2 separate regions of the Homo sapiens genome follow, and region 1 is linked to region 2. The links are contacts of gene promoters, found by promoter capture Hi-C in blood cells and fetal thymus (Javierre and others, 2016). All regions are on one chromosome and are shown on one strand. The core of a region is centred on a gene start or on the middle of the fragment in contact, and the rest is flanking DNA. Distances in the headings are between cores, read along the strand shown.

Region 1 (5,820 bases), core at 1,556-4,055, 320 kb after region 2:
ATGTTTCAGCGGGCAAACATCTAAGAACCAGTTCTCTATGTCTGTTCCATTCTGACTTAATTACAGTTTGTAATTACAGTTTGTTATTTGCATTCCTAACCAGGCCTACTTCAGAACCTTGGACATAGGGAAATGACATGGCACAGTGGTTGAGAGCACAGGTTCTTAGCTAAGACTGTCTGGGATGGAAACTAAGCTCTGCCAGTTATGTGACATGGAGCAAGTTTCCTAATCCCCCTGTTTTCTTATCTGGGGATAATGTTACTCTTACTTCAGGGGGTTAGTGAGGAGTAGTTGCGTTCATTTTAAGGTGTTTAGCACAGTGCCTGTCACATTGTAGGCTTTCTGTTAAACGTTAACTGTTATTACTAGATTTTATTATAGTAAGCACTTAGAAAATGCTGAATGAATGAATGAATGAATGAATGATTGTCTTACCCTCTGGTCCATCAAGAGCAGAAGATTATACAAGAAAATGACCAGATTATTCTCTATTTAGGTGCTGTTCCAGACCAAATTTTGCCACACCTTGTTTTTGCTGTTAAGACACATATATTCAGGCCAAGCACAGTGGCTCACACCTGTAATCCCAACACTTTGGGAGGCCAAGGCGGGCAGATCACCTGAGGTCAGGAGTTCGAGACCAGCCTGGCCAACATGGCAAAACCCCATCTCTACTAAAAAAATACAAAAATTAGCTGGGCGTGGTGATGCACGTCTGTAATCCCAGCTACTCAGAAGGTTGAGGCAGGAGAATCACTTGAACCTGGGAAGTGCAGGTTGCAGTGAGCCAAGATCGCATGCCACTGTACTCCAGCCTGAGCAACAGAGCGAGACTCCATCTCAAAAAAAAAAAGACACATACATTCAGGTACTTCTCACATACCCTGAGGCATTAGCAAGGTGCTACATGGAGTCATGTCTACTGTCCCACTTGGTGACCAATAGTCAACATTAGCAAAAACTTTGACCATAATGAAGAATATAGGTTATGGTTATACCCAAAAAAAATTATTCTGGAAATGCTGTTTTCTGTGGCACTCAATCTTTCACTTTTGGCCTCAGGTAGCATTAGAATAAGTCAATTCTGGGAATCATGGAAAATCAATAAATTTGTTGTCTTTCTTCTGGGGATATATTTAAAATAACCCTCAGCCTTTGGGAGGCTGAGGTGGGTGGATCACAAGGTCACGAGTTCAAGACCAGCCTGGCCAACATAGTGAAACCCTGTCTCTAATAAAAATACAAAAAATAAGCTGGGCATGGTGGCAGACGCCTGTAATCCCAGCTACTCAGGAGGCTGAGGCAGGAGAATTGCTTGAACCCGGGAGGCGGAGGTTGCAGTGAGCCGGGATCGCGCCACTGCACTCCAGCCTTGGCCAAAGTGCAAGACTCCATGTCAAAAACAAACAAACAAAAAAAAAAACAAATAAAATAACCCTCAGCCAACAACTCAACAGGATGACCAGCTGGACAGCAGCCATTTGAAAACGCTCCAATTTCAAGAAATTGTGTTGATAAATCATTTTCCAAATATTCTCCAGAAAAACTCCTATGATGAAAGAAAAATGAAGCATGTATTTATCATCAGTCCCTCTATGTTGCCTTCCCACTGAAATTCAGAACAAAAGCCACAAACATGCCATATTTTCTCAGATCTTTATACAGTTCCCTGAGCATGGAACGTCCTCCACACCTCCCATTTCACCCAGCCCCTTAATCCCAGTGAGTCATAGTTGTATAGTGCAGAGATTAGTAGTTGAATTCAAATCCCAGCTCCATATTTCCCAGACTGAGTGACAATGGGCAAAGTTATTTAACTTCCCTGTTAATCAGTTTCCTATAGGGATGATGGTTACACCAACCTTGTGGGGCTTTGGAAAAAAATAAATAGCTTAATATTCGGAAAATGCATAGAATAGGGCACTTCTGGCACAGAGTGAGCATTACATAAGTTGTGTCATTATTGTCTTTCAAGTCCTAGCACCAGTTTCACAGAAACCTGAAGGTTTGTTCATTCCCCTGGGCAGGGTTATGCACCTCCTTCTCCATGCTTGTACTCGTCTCTACTGTAATATGTATCACATTCAGTTATAAAGGTTAGTGTGTATGTCTCCCTTGCCACTACTCAGAACTATAGGAAATACAAAGGCAGTCATTTTACCTTTTTTTTTTTTTCAGGTAGGGTCTCACTCTGTCGCGCAGGCTGGAGTGCAGTTGTGTGATCTTAGCTCACTGCAACCTCCACCTCCTAGGTTCAAGCGATTCTCCTGCCTCAGCCTCCTGAGTAGCTGAGACTACAGGCGCATGCCACCACGCCTGGCTAATTTTTGTATTTTTAGTAGAGATGGGGTTTCACCGTGTTGGCCAAGCTGGTCTGGAACTCCTGACCTCGGATGACCTGCCCACCTCGGCCTCCCACAGTGCTGGGATTACAGGCATGAGCCACCACACCCAGCCCATCTTACCTTTAGAGTTTTCAAGCCTTACAACAGAGCTGTGAACATAGCAGATGCACAACAAATATTTGGTTAATGTATGAAATCATTAATTAAATGTCATTTAAACTTTTCAAGCTTCTCATGAAGTCAGTATTTTCCCCTCCTTGTATGAAACTGTCGAGCAATGGCTATTTCTGTGGCTGCTTCTAAAGCCAAACAAGGTAAGGTTTTCAGTTATCTCAGAGACTGTACAATAATCACTGGTATCATAAAAATTCATTATTATCCCTGTTAATAGAGTGGATAAATATCCTTGCTGGGACAGCAGTGTCTTGGCCCAGCATGTGTCATCTATAGAGTGGACTCTTAGAGTTTCCTTAGGCAGCTCTCCAGCAGTGCATCCCTCCAGCATTGCTGGGATATGGGACATGTCGCAGCTCCCAGAAGAGATCTCCCAGTGGCTAGTCACGGTCAATCTGCAATCAGAGAAGGGTTTTGGCAAGAAAGTGATCCAAGGAGACACTGAAAATAGCAAGTTCATTGAAGGCCAAGGGAACATCCCCTTGTGAAAGTAAGAAAGGATGATAAAATAAGAAGCTTACTGGCAGTGAAAAGAAAACATCCTGTCTGAGTTGAATTGCAGGAGGGGGAGTCAGGGAAGGCTCCAGCCACCTTGGAAAGGCAGCATGGAGCAGCAGGGAAGCCACCAGATTTGGAATCTGAACAATCAAGTCTCAGTTCTTCATTTGATGAGCGCACTTTCTCCTCTTTAAAATGGAGACCCAGCCTGATGTGGTGGCTCATGCCTGTAATCCCAGCACTTTGGGAGGCTGAGCCGGGCAGATCACCTGAGGTCGGGAGTTCAAGACCAGCCTGACCAACATGGAGAAAACCCGTCTCTACTAAAAATACAAAATTAGCCAGGTGTGGTGGCACATGCCTGTAATCCCAGCTACTCGGGAGGCTGAGGCAGGAGAATCACTTGAACCTGGGAGGCAGAGGTTGCAGTGAGCCAAGATCACGCCATTGCACTCCAGTGTGGGCAACAAGAGCGAAACTCCATCTCAAAAAAAAAAATAATAAAATAAAATAAAATAAAATGGAGACTGAAACAAAGAAAACTGTGAAGCACACTATGAATGTAAAAATTTATCCTGTGTTGTTAGAAAGGCCCCTTCACACAGTAATTCACAGAAAGGGTTCCCACTCTGAACAAGGTCTTTCCATCTTCTCCACTTGAGGGCTGAAAGGGATGTCTCTGCCTCCTTTTGATTTAAATTAGCAGGTTCTTAAGAAGTGAGGGTGGGCAACAGAATTGGAGGCTTTCATGAGACAAAACTTACTAGGAATTTGCTTAGGAATCTGCTTTTGGGAGGCACTATGTAAACCCACACAGTGTGACTTACAGCCTATGAGGAACTTTCTTATGTTAGGCTCAAGTGTTAAAAATGCAAACCGCCTGTGGTGCACTGCTGGAGCTGCTATCCCCACCTAGCAAGAGCTGACTGCACACGTCTCTTCCCACCTCCTTGAAATTGGCCCTGGTAGAAGTGTTTACCTCATGGTAATTGACAAATGCTACAAATCAGGGTGTCTTTTCTTCTCTGTCTCCAGGAGCTTGCTTATGAGCACACCTCTGACTGAGGTCCACAGGACTCAAGATTCCTCCAGCCATCACTCTCCACTACAAATGCCACAAAAATGAAAATTTGACCATATACATAAGTACTAGATGGGAAACACTGAAAAGATACACCATGAGGAGGGAGAAAAAACAAAAAGCCAAAAAATCTTAGTATATCAACTGCACATTCCTACCACACGGAGATCTGACAATGAAGTATCTTGAGGGTTTTTGGGGGTTTTTTTGTTTTTTAAACTAAGAATAACTGTAATATGCCAGAGAATTTTGAATCAGCCTTATCTGTAGTCTCAAATGAATATATTCAAAAGTCATATTATAGCAGAAATGCAAATATCTTGATTGCATATTGAGGATAATATAATGGTGGAACAACTAGCTTGTCAAATAGGTGATCGGGATGGAATAAAAATGCATTCTTGGTTGTCTTCTATCCCAATGAGTTAAAGTAATATTGCACTTATAACTTTTCAATACATTATGGTCATATTGTTTCCTCATGCGTATTTTATTTGTTCTTTTTATCGTTTAAATGGATTGTTCCTTTTCTTCTGGAACTCCAAACATTATGCTAGGTTTTCAAGGCTGGTGCTTGTGATAGGGGAAGAGAATAATGCCTGTGTGTGTAAGGTGCTTGATGTTTCTCAGAGGCCTTTCCTATATGCAATCCTCACTTAATCGTTATACACACCCCCAAAGCAAGGCATACCCATTTTCAGACAAGGAAGAAGACACTCACATGATAAGAAGAGCTACTGGAATCTGGACCCTGCTGTCATTATTGTTCCTGGACATTAGATGTTGACTGTTATAGCCATCGATAATGCTGCCACTAGAATGATGGTCGAATTGTCTCTACTTCTTTGCATCACTCTTACAGTCATAAAACTCAAAACAAGAACATCTGCTTAACCGGGCTTAGGTCTCCTGTACGTACACTAACTGGCGAGATTTCAAGTGAACCGGCAGCTTGTATTTTTTGGGCTTCTGCTGTGAAATGAAAATCCTTCATCTAACAAGACAAAAAATGGTACATTCTCCAAACACAGGAGGAAGTTTAAATTCAGAAGAGTAGATATTATTATTACTATTATAGTAAGCATCTATTCTACCCATGGGAGCCTATCATCTTTTGAGTCTTTTCTCTATATTTGGAGACATATCCAAATTATGAGTTGTTATATAGGATTCACAATGCAAATTTCCAGCTGCCCTTGCAGCTAGGATTCAGGGACATGAATTACTTGGTGTCAATCAAGGACACCATATCATTATAAGATTTTGATTCAAGGCCAGCTGCAGTGGCTCATGCCTGTAATCCCAGCACTTTGGGAGGCCGAGGCAGGCAGAAAACTTGAGTTCAGGAGTTTGAGGCCAGCCTGGCCAACATGGTGAAACCCTGTCTCCACTAAAAATACAAAAAGTAGCCAGGGATGGTGGCAGGCGCCTGTAATCCCAGCTACTCGGGAGGCTGAGGCAGGAGAATTGCTTGAATCTGGGAGGCAGAGGTTGCAGTGAGCTGAGATTGTGCCACTGCAGTCCAGCGTGGGCAACAGAGTGAGACTCAAGAATAAAAATAAAAAATAAAATAAATAAAAAATAAAATGACACCAATTTATTTTTAAAAATGTTTTTGATTCAGAAGGAAGCAATAAGAAGAAAAAGGCTCTGCAGAAAAAGGACCTTGAATCTTTGCAAATTTGATGGTGAAGGGGATGCAGAGGTATCTGGTATTTT
Region 2 (5,791 bases), core at 3,058-5,557:
GGATATGATGGCTTAGCTTGGGCTCAGAAGCCTGACACTAATAAATTCATCTCTTGTAGTAAATGATTGCCTCCAAATATTATATCTCACAACTGTATCTTCCAGGTAAAATAATATTAACAGGCGCCTACAAAGCCACAGAGGATTATAGTTAAGGCCAGATACGATGGTGGAATAGGCAGACCTACTATTCGGATGACAAGGGCCTTTCTGTACTTCTCATGTCACAGCAGGTGTGAGCACTCTGACAGTGATCCTAATTACTTTGGAAAGTAAAACGAACTGAAGATTATGTTTGGGGAAAAACAGAAACAAAACCTTCAAATTACAGAGTGGAGTTTTGAAAAGAAAAGTGTAATGTTCAACACCGTGCACCAGAGGGCACCATATTTACATGAGCCTGGAAAGGGCACTTACTCTCCATTTGGTATTGAATGACCCATTTAAACGAAGTGACAGAGGGATAGAGAGAAGAGCAGGAAAAGTATATAAGCAAGTATTGTCCAAGCACCCAGTAAACATGATGTAGTTCTTCTTCCTGTTAAAGTTAGATGCATATGACTAAGCACAGAATCCAGTTAACATAGAGATATGTGTGTGTATCTCAAAAACCTTTTGGTCACTCACTCTCTGACCTTCTTTTTTATTTAGAGTGAAAATTTATTGTGTGAGTCTTGGAGGGACTGTCTCCCACTATGGATGCCAGAGGGGACCAGACAGTCTCTCTCCTGGCCCTGGCAGTAAGGACATGGATATCCTGTCCTGGACTCAGCAATCAGATCCTCCACCCAGAACTTTTATGTATATATATTTATATTTATAAATTTATATTTAATTATATATAATGCATATTCAATTTTAAAATTAAATATAGATATATACATTCACTTTTAAAATTTAAATATGATATGTACATTTAATTTTTAAAATTAAATATATGATATATATGTCATATACATTTAATTTTTAAAATTAAATATATATATGACATATACATTTAATTTTTAAAATTAAATATATGATATATATGACATATACATTTAATTTTTAAAATTAAATATATGATATATATGACATATACATTTAATTTTTAAAATTAAATATATGATATATACATTTAATTTTTAAAATTAAATATATGATATATACATTTATTTTTTAAATTAAATATGTGATATATACATTTAATCTTTAAAATTAAATATATGATATATACATTTAATCTTTAAAATTAAATATATGATATATACATTTAATCTTTAAAATTAAATATATGATATATACATTTAATCTTTAAAATTAAATATATGATATATACATTTAATCTTTAAAATTAAATATATGATATATACATTTAATCTTTAAAATTAAATATATGATATATACATTTAATCTTTAAAATTAAATATATGATATATAATTAAATATAGAATATATACACATTTAATTTTAAAAATCATTTTTTAATAGAGGTAGGGTCTTACTATGTTGCCCAGGCTGGTCTCAAACTCCTGGACTCAAGCGATCCACCTGCCACAGCCTCCCAAAATGCTGGGATTACAGGCATGAGTTACCATGACCAGCCCAAAACTTTTCATCTTGAAGGAAGACTCAGAAGCTCAGGAGCAATGAGAGGTTATGCATGGCAGTGCCTATGACAACAAACACTCAATAGCGGTGGTGCTAGCAGTAGTGGCACAATGGGGACAACCACAAATGCTGAAAAAGATGTGTTGTAGTTGAAATTGGTTCTTATTTCTACTGGAGGTCGTGTTAACCATCAAAAACAAAATAAGCGTAGTTATCATAATAGGCAGTTGAGCCTGTGTGGATATCTGAATGATCTAACCCACAGATTCTTTATAGTGGTTATTGATCATGGGGTCCTTAAAAAATGTGTGTTCATTCAATAAGATTCTACTGGAAAGTATAAGCTCTGTGATGGCAAGGATTTTAGACTGTTTATTCAGTGTTGCATCACAAACACCTAGAACAGTTTGTGTCACATAGACCTGCCCAATAAATATTTGTTGAGTGAATGAACAGGAGCCTAAAATGAGCCATCATGGTAGAAAATCAGGTCCCTCATCCAATTTTCAGCCCTGAGTCAGACCTAGAAGCTCTGAAATTTAAAAAAAAAAAAAAAAGCATTTTACCAGTTAGGAAGAATCTTGTAATATTTTGCAAGTATTTACGGTGAATATTCTTCTTAATCTTTGCCAAAGAGACCTGCTGTCATTTCCAGGGTAACTGTGCACTTGGGAAAAGGAGATGCCCAGAGTTTTGCAAACCAGATCAGATCTAGTAAATGTCAGATCTGAGATGTGAATGCAGCTCTATTTCATTTAGAAACCAATTTATTTGTTTGTTTGTTTGTTTGTTTGTTTGTTTGTTTGTTTTTGAGACAGAGTCTCATTCTGTTGCCCGGGCTGGGGTGGAATGGCACGATCTCAGCTCACTGCAAAATCTGCCTCCCAGATTCAAGCAATTCTTGTGCCTCAGACTTCTGAGTAGCTGGGATTACAGGTGCGCAACACCACATCTGGATAATTTTTTTGTATTTTTAGTAGAGAAGGGGTTTCCCCATGTTGGCCAGTCTGGTCTCTAACTCCTGTCCTCAAGTGATCCACCCACCTTGGCCTCCCAAAGTGCTGGGATTACAGACGTGAGCCACTGCATCTGGCCCCAATATTTTCTATATTTACCTGATGATAATAATTATCTGGGGGCACTTGGAAAATATACAGACTCCTGAGCCCCACCCCTTCTAAATCAGAATTGCCAGGGGACGGTCCCGGCAATTTAGGTTTTTAACAACAACCCTGTCAATAAGGTAATTCTTATTACCACACATTTGGGAGACATCTGGTGCCCTTTTCTTTTGGGAACTAGAAGGTCATGAAAGGGTCAGGGATCTAACCATTATGCATTTCAAGATTTAGCCAGTGATACTGGCTTTTCATCTTTACTGTTTTTAGAGTGACCCTATTTGGTTGTTAATGGCTCCAACAGTCAGCCTTTTTGAACTGTGGGAAAGACGGTGGGGCAGCAATTAGGACTCAAGGGTAGGTGCACACAGCTTGATTGAAAACAGTCTGAAAGCATTCCATCTTAAGGAATGTGAGCATATATTACTACTGTATATGCCATTATTTTAGGAGGAGACCTTGACTCTATTTATTTTGCAAAAGAGGTGATAATTCAAGGAATAATATGATATTGTAGAATCATGCAGTGCTTCACACTGAACTCTCTTAAGATGTGTGCATGTTAAACTGACTAATTAATAAGGTGAATAAGGTAATTGATAACAGATTGAAGAAGTATGGTAAGCTACAATCTCATCTTGCAATACATAGAACATCAAGATGTAAAGCAAGAATCTCTTCTCACTAAAATCACTTTAAAATGCAGTATTTGGTCTTTATATATTCTAAAGAAAGTACAGCACTTTTTCAAATGTAAGTGATATTGTATTGACGATTCATTATTAACAATAATCCTTCCAGTTTTCAGTTTTCCCTCCACCCCCCATAGGAAAGCCTTTTGGACATTATATAAGCTTCCCTACAATCCCAAGACTTAAAAGCCCTCTCTGGGTGTGACACTGAAGAATTCTATTCTCAGTAATTCTTGGCTAAAGTTTGAAGGATTATAGGGCTTTTGGTCTCTCATCTTAATATTTACTTCCTATTAGGGAAGAACAGGAGAAATGAAGAGTTGTTTAATGAGAAAACCAAGAGCCTGAAGAGTCTTCAGAGGAAGGGAGTTCAAACCTCTTGGAAGCTGATGTTTTAATTTTAATTTTTTAAAGATGAGGTTTCACTCTGTTGCCCAAGCTGAAGTTCAGTGGTGTGATCACAGCTCACAGCAGCCTTGAATTCCTGGGCTGAAGCAATGGAGGTTGATGTTTTAAATGGGCAGAATATCCAGGAGTTACTGCTTATTAAAATTACATCAAATGTAACCGTTTACAAGACCCTTAGGAGCTGAGTTTAGCAATGCAAAAGTCACCCTAGCATGGGAGAGGTTGGAGCAGACAAGAGATCTTGGGCACAATTATAAAGAACTTGTCAAATAAAATAGTATGAACTAAAGGCTTAAGTATAGGAGGAGTCTTGTATGTCCAAGGGGATTCAGCAGATTAGGTAAGATAAAGACTTATCTTCAGATTAAGGCCTACACCAGAGGTAAGTAGATCACTGCCAGATAGAATCTGGAACCCCTTAGAGAAGGTGTCATTACGTGTTCACAATGGATATAGTTCTATTGACTGGGGGGTAATTCTGCCCCTAACAAATTACTGTGTCAGGAAGAGCATGGCAACATGAGCAGTGCTGGTGAGTCTCTGCCAGGGATGTCTCCAAGGCCTTGAGTCTCTCAAATAAGGCAAACCATTCATCTTCCCAATTGTTAATAGATCTGAGCCATTCAGGGGCACCATGGGTGACTTTTGTGTTATTCATGCCTTTGTTTTCCTTCTCTTTCTCCTTCTTCCCCTTCCTCCTACCTTCTGCCACCAGATCTTTGAGGATAGTACAGGGCCTTATTCATAAGACAACTAAGGCAAGAGGGAGGAAGTAAAATGTGGATTGGGCCACCTCTCCTCCAGAGAGAAGACTGGTATGGGGTTTGAGATTATGCAGTGATTTCATTTGTTGCCAAGTCAATATTATTATGGCGTGGAATGGGTGCTAAAAGCCTTCTCAAATTATTAGGAAGTTTGAAGGCAGAACAGGTAAGAAGGAAAAACAAGAATGGAGAAATGAGAGGATGAGGAAGGGAAGGATGTACAGAGCCTTGTCTCTATATCTCCTTAAGACTGTTTTGGCAATGGCAAGCCCTAGCATAGTCAGGCCCCTTGCCACCAGCGGTGTGTGTAGCTGTGAACAACAATCACTAGGGAATTTCTGCCAAACCCCACTTTTCTGTATTCAGATGGGCTCAGTAATATACTCATTCAACAAATCCATGTTAGACTCTATGAATGATAAACAAACAAAAGTCCAAAAGATTGAAAATCATTGGCTGGGAGCGTTGGCTCACCCTTGTAATCCTAGTACTTTGGGAGGCTGAGGCAGGTGGATTACCTGAGGTCAGGAGTTCAAGACCAGCCTGGCCAACATGGTAAAACCCCATCTCTACTGAAAATACAGAAATTAGCCAGGTGTGGTGGCATGCACTGTAATCCCAGCTACTGGAGAGGTTGAGACACAAGAATCACTTGAATCTGGGAGGCAGAGTCTGCAGTGAGTTGAGATCTTGCCACTGCATTCCAGCCTGGGTGACGGAGTGAGACTTTGGCAAAAAAAAAAAAAAAAAAAGATTGAAGATTATCTTTTGAAAGAACAATTTATTCCACATTTACAGAACTTAGACATTGTGCAAACACTTTTAGAGCCTAGAGGAAGAAAGGTGAAAAAACAAAGTCCCTCCTCTCACACGCTCAGTCTGATGAGGAAGACAGATATATCGATGGATAAAAACAGTCAGACTTGTTAATTGTAATAATGGAGGATATACGTGATGGTATAGGGAGATAGTGATGAATTCTACCATTGCAGTAGATTCTACCTTTCTTGGCTCACCAAGATTATATGTAAACCAGTTCTTAATGGATGACTATTAATTTGTGAGCTGACTGTGCTTAAGAAAACATTTGAAGCAATGGGAATATGGGAACAAAGACATGGAGGTTTCAAGTGAGAGTACCTAGCACATGCAGGAAACAGCAATGCCTTGGCTTAGCTTGCAAACAGGAGGCAGAGTGCGCAGAGAGGCAGGAAATGAG

The links. The method cuts DNA at HindIII sites, captures the fragments that hold promoters and counts their contacts. A CHiCAGO score of 5 or more calls a contact.
Region 1: a contact is called between a fragment that was not itself captured here and the fragment with the promoter of RGSL1 in region 2, in 8 of 17 cell types (M1 macrophages, M2 macrophages, M0 macrophages and 5 more). The highest score is 15.0, in M1 macrophages.

What each region holds. Positions count from the first base shown.
Region 1 is chr1:182,767,486-182,773,305 of GRCh38, forward strand. No RefSeq gene overlaps it. Among named protein-coding and RNA genes, the nearest start is that of NPL, 19 kb to the right of the region's middle. The HindIII fragment of the contact is 462 bases long and covers 2,575-3,036 here.
Region 2 is chr1:182,445,839-182,451,629 of GRCh38, forward strand. It overlaps RGSL1 (regulator of G protein signaling like 1), which reads left to right and starts at 4,308. Exons shown (of 22, transcript NM_001137669.2): 1 at 4,308-4,340. The coding sequence starts at 4,328. RefSeq lists an enhancer at 4,146-4,753. The HindIII fragment of the contact is 4,233 bases long and covers 3,561-5,791 here.